2 separate regions of the Homo sapiens genome follow, and region 1 is linked to region 2. Evidence: promoter capture Hi-C in human tissues and cell types (Jung and others, 2019). All regions are on one chromosome and are shown on one strand. Each heading gives the region's core, a stretch centred on a gene start or on the middle of the fragment in contact. The rest is flanking DNA. Distances are from core to core; before and after follow the strand shown. Region 1 overlaps AVL9 (AVL9 cell migration associated). Region 2 holds the start of BBS9 (Bardet-Biedl syndrome 9).

Region 1 (2,700 bases), core at 150-2,649, 550 kb before region 2:
GTATGTTTCAAAGTGAGAACACCACTGTTTCATACAGGATGGTGTGAACTAATAACAGGATTTACCATTTTTATTTTGGTGAAGTGCTTTTAGCAAGCCGTGGCTGTCGGAGAGATGCAGCCATACATACATCCTTATGTCCTCACCACTTTTTGGTTCATCTGTATGTTCTTCTCGTGTATTCTGAAAATGCACATGCTTAAAAGGTTAATAAATTAATTCATAACAAATAATAATTTAGCTTCTTTTCTCAGTAATTCTAATTTTGGATGGTTACAGAGTGACTATTGTGTGTGTGTCTATATGTGTCTGTGTGCGTGTGTGAGATTTTTTTAAAATTGTACCTAACACTTCTTTTATCTTATCTTTTACCCAGTTCTGTTCAGAATAGTGAACGTGGCAAAAAAATTGGAAACGTCATGGTCACAACTAGCCGGAATGTTGTACAAACAGGAAAAGCTGTTGGTAAGACATGCCTTTAGCCAGGAACAAATTGGAATCACAACACATCCATTTTCTATCTTTAATATGTAATTGATAAAACAAACATAAAGTTGTAAAGATCTGTGTTATCACATAGTAATACAAGAGTTTTTTAAATTTTTGTCATATTCATTTGAAAAATTCCAAATTCCAAATGGTCAAACTCCATTATCTAATAGAGAGTGACAAAATTTTCTGATGAAGTCACTGTTTTGCTACCAAGATTCAAGCTGCACCAGAGTTTTCTTCCCCCATTCCCTGTGCTGTCCACAGTTCTTTATAAATGGCAGAGACTCATAATAAAAGTAGGTATTAGGAACTGCTATCCTCTAAGGTAGTATTACACAATAAAGAAAATGAAGCCAACAGTTGGTTTTTCAAAAAGATCAACAATATTTATAAAATCTGGTAAAGATAAAAAGAAAGAAGGTACAAATTACCAACGTTAGGGATGAAAGAGGGACATTACTGTAGCTCTTACAGAAATTAAAAGAACAGAAAATAGGGGAATATTGTGAACAACTTTATGCTAACCAGTTTAACAACATAAATGAAATATACAAATTTTTTTAAAGATTCGCATTACCAACACAGTTGCAAAAAGAAAATATGAATAGCCCTATTATCTATTAAAGAAATTGGGCCGAATGCAGTGGCTCATACCTGTAATCCCAGCACTTTGGGAGGCTGAGGTGAGAGGATTGCTTGAGTCCAGGAGTTCAAGACCAGCCTGGGCAACATAGTGAGACCCCATCTCTAAAAAAAAATTTAAAAAGTCAGTAGGCATGGTGGTGTGTGCCTGCAGTCCCAGCTACTTGAAAGGCTGAAGTGGGAGGATTGCTTGAGCCCAGGAAGTCAAGGCTGCAGTGAGCAGTCCAGCCTGGGTGACAGGGCAAGAGTCTTAAAGAAAGAAAGAAATTAATTGAATTTAACGTGAAAAGCCTTGCCATAAGGTTTTTAATTTAAACCAGGCTGCCCAGGTGGCTTCAGTTTGAACTCTGTCAAATGTTTAAGGAAGAAATACTAGTTTTACACAAAATCTTTAAATAAGGTAATACTCCCCAACTCATTGGATGAGGCCAATATTAGTATCAAAGTCAGACAAATGGTAGCATGCTCTTCTGCACCTAGCTGTTTTCGCTTAAAATATTTTGAATATTGTTCCACATCAGTTCTAAAATTTTTCATTCCTTTTCTATATTTTTAACTTTTTATTTTGATGTAGTTTCAAACCTGAACATTGCAACAGTGCAAGAAACTCCCAATTATCTTCTGATTCACCAATTATTTACATTTTGCCCCATCTGCTTTGTCATACAATGTGTTGTAAAAATAGGGCATTACTACTTCCCTAGCTTCTGAAAGAGGTTGACTAACCGTTACTGAACACAATTCAAAAGCCCCAGAACTAAGTAATCTTTGTGTAGGTGTCCTTATATCCCTAGTTTTCTGAATACCTAGAGAGAGACAGAAAACTCTACAGACTCATTTGTAAAGACAACACACAGCGCTACCACTAGATTAGTTTTATTGCAAAGGAATGGAATTTAGCACACAAACATTTATTTCCAAACAATATGCCTTTGGCTTATTTTGAATTTTTATTTTTTAATAGAAAAACTATGCTATATTATAGATTATTATAGATACATCATTATACGTTATTATTTTTTAGTGATGCTGCTACTGATAGTTAAATTCTAAAGCCAAATCTCTTCTATACTCTTCTGTCCAAGAATAGTGGGAGTGTATTAGTCAACTTAAATAATTTCACTTAGCATCACCTTTTTTTCCTGAGACAGGGTCTCACTCTGTTGCCCAAGCTGAAGTGCAATATGGTGCGATCTTGGCTCACTGCAATCCCTGCAACCCCTGGCAGGATCCTCCTTCCTCAGCCTACCAAGTAGCTGGGACTACAGGCATGTGCCATCATGCCTGGCTAATTTTTCTATTTTTTGTAGAAAGAGGGTTTCGCCATGTTTCCCAGGCTGTCTCGAATTCTTGGACTCAAGCTAACCACCCGTCTCGGCTTCCCAAAGTGCTGGGATTACAGGTGTGAGCCACCATGCCTGGCCTAACATCAACTTTTGAGATACTGTTCTATAAAACACAATAGACCTGGGGCAGATAGAGCTCTATACATCTTTGTGTAACATAACTTCATTTTAGATGACAAAAGCACATTTCCCTACAACAGTCTAACCACTCTTCCCTGTT
Region 2 (2,700 bases), core at 41-2,540:
CTGGTTATATTACCAAGGCTTTGACTGAAAGGTCATTTTTAAAAATATTGAGGCCGGACGCGGTGGCTCACGCCAGCAATCCCAGCACTTTGGGGGACTGAGGTGGGTGGATCGTTTGAACCCAGGAGTTCGAGAGCAACCTGGACATGGCGAAACTCCATCTCTACAAAAAATACAAAAATTAGCCAGGTGTGGTGGTCTGTGCCTGTAGTCCCAGCTTACTAGGAAGGCTAAGGTGGGAGAATCGTTTGAGCCCGGGAGGCTGAGGCTTCAGTGCTTCAGTGAGCAGTGATCCTGTCACTGCACTCCAGTCTAGGCGACCCTGTCAGGGAGACCCAGTCTCAGTTAAAAAAAAAAAAAAAACCCAAAACCCAAAAAACTAAAACTAGAATGGTATTTTCTACTGGGAATGTGGATTTGTGGATTGATGGTGAAATACTGGAAATTTAAAGCCTACACTAGAATCCATTGAAAAAAGCAAACAAGAAAAACTTCAAGGTTGGCTACATTGAATTTGAATGTAAAGATTAAAAAAAAATAAGTAAAAAACAAAAGAAGACATAGATCCAATCCCATATACCAGGAAATGCACTCTAAGGTATATACGGAAAATATATTTAACACATGTGTATCAGGACGCAGGCACAAGTAACTTCAAAGCAGCGCTGTTTCAAATAGTAAAAAAAGGAAAAACTGGAAACTGTTCAAAAGCTTCATCATCTCGATGATCTTGGTCTTCCGCCTCGCCTTCTTCTCCAAGGTGAATATGTACTGGGCCAGCACCACCCCCGCCACCAGGGCGCACACGCTGGCGCTCGCTACCGCGACCACCCTCGCCACGGTCGCGCGGTGCATGGACGGGGCCCTCATGAGTGTCCCGGCAGGAAAAAAACACCGCGATTGGGACTCTCAGAAGCGCAGGATCCCAGAGCACCATGGACAAGCCAGTGACGCCCCGCCCCCACTAGGCCCCACCCACACGCACCGAGGGGAGAGGGCGGTCACGCGGCCGGGGGGGCGTGGCCTGCCCCCGGAGCCCAGGCAGGAGGAGGGTCTTCCTTAAGGAACTGCTGCCAGGACAGGGCAGAGGATTGCAGTAATTATCACTCTCTGCTAATGAGGACCAGGCCGTGGTTCACTCGAGCCCCGCCCCAGTAGCAATCTAATTCCAACCGCGGCCCTCTCAGAAGTCGGTCCCCGCCTTTGCGCCTCAGCCTCTCTGGACTCCAGCCCCCAGAAGTCGGCGCGGCACGGCGTGACCTGCGCAGTGGCGTCCGTTGTAAGTGCTATGACAACAGGGCGAAGATGGCTCAGAGTTAGGCTGGAGAGGGGAGGTGTCCCTTCCGCTGCGGCCGTCGGGTTTCTGCTACATCCCATTCACCGCCTCCTCCATCCTTTCCTCCTCGGTGTGAGCAGCAGGACTTGCATTTGTTCTCGCCTGCCTAGTGTCTTCCAAGGGATAGATGCCGTTTCCTCTGCTGGTCTCTGGGGGTGACGGGGGGCGCAGGGGAGCTTCTTGGGGGAATCACTCCAACTCTGTGGAGCTGGTGGTGCTGCCTGGTGGGGCTCTCTCTTTGCCCGGGACGTGGAACAACTTTCAGCTGGAGGACGAGAGGGAATAGTGAAGCTAAAGGTTGCTTTTCTCTGCACCGTCCGTTCTTGCTCCCTCTGCTCCATCACTGGGACCTTGTCAGGCGTTCATAAAGCAAAATTTGCCGAACGAGGGTTCGCAGAAAGGTGGGGCAGAGCTCATCTGACGTGGCATCAGGTAAGATGGTATGTCTGTTGTTAAACTTCGGGTACATGAATACCCTTTCCATGTTTTATTTTGTGAACAAGATTCTCTAATGCAGTATAATGGTTTGGAGTCTGTAAGGTGATTGATTTCTTAGATGTTTGCACTGAAATAAACAAACACTAGGAGCACAAAGTGTATGAGATTCTGTGAGTACTTTTGAGAAAAAAGGGATGAGAATTTTTAAGGATTCCATTGAGGAATGTCACTTGGAGCATGAGCATCCTCCTGAGACACTTCAACAGGTCTGTGAGTAAATGGGCAAAGCAGTTCCCAGCCTACGACTGAAGTAGGATGCATGTACTAATACCCCCAATCCTTCTAGTAATAGGATTATTGTTTCTCCTCTTGTTACTTGGAGACCACAACAGTTTAGATGAGCTGCGCTGATTTTATCAGCACCTCCTGCCAGTCAAATCCTGCCTTTGACTTCAATTTCCTGGAGAAATGTATTTTTTTGGGTATCTCACTTTTACTTTAAAAATGAAACCGTATCTTACAGGTATACACATCTTACATGTCCTCATTGATAAACAACTTGAAAGATGCTGCAGGATAAGCTATGGGTCTTAAGTTGGCCAGCATTCAGAGAAAGATTTTCTAACTTATTAGCATTTTATAAAGAAAACAATTACTGAGATTTTTTTCATGAATATACGGAAGAATTAAAAAAAAAACTAGAAAACCCAGAAGTTTTTAAAGAAGAATTTTAAAAAACTTTATTTTGAAAATAAGTTACAAGTTATTTGTCAGAGTTTAAGGGATTTTTCCTTGTGTGTAATTGTCGTGGTTAAATTACAACTATACACTTATATTTATGGTACAACTTCTTGATAGAAATGCTCACTGAAGGGAAAAAATCCAACAGCAATAGTATATATAGTAATTTTAAAACTTTTACACCT

Evidence for each region. Contacts are between HindIII fragments. The study calls those that stand out against the background at their distance.
Region 1: a contact is called between a fragment that was not itself captured here and the fragment with the promoter of BBS9 in region 2, in 1 of the 25 tissues and cell types used here (dorsolateral prefrontal cortex).

The regions. Positions count from the first base shown.
Region 1 is chr7:32,580,426-32,583,125 of GRCh38, forward strand. AVL9 (AVL9 cell migration associated) reads left to right here. Exons shown (of 16, transcript NM_015060.3): 15 at 377-465. It also overlaps the pseudogene DPY19L1P1. Among named protein-coding and RNA genes, the nearest start is that of AVL9, 86 kb to the left of the region's middle. The HindIII fragment of the contact is 9,751 bases long and covers 1-2,700 here.
Region 2 is chr7:33,128,274-33,130,973 of GRCh38, forward strand. BBS9 (Bardet-Biedl syndrome 9) reads left to right here and starts at 1,291. Exons shown (of 23, transcript NM_198428.3): 1 at 1,291-1,768. RefSeq lists enhancers at 704-753, 1,244-1,353 and a silencer at 894-1,193. The HindIII fragment of the contact is 11,941 bases long and covers 1-2,700 here.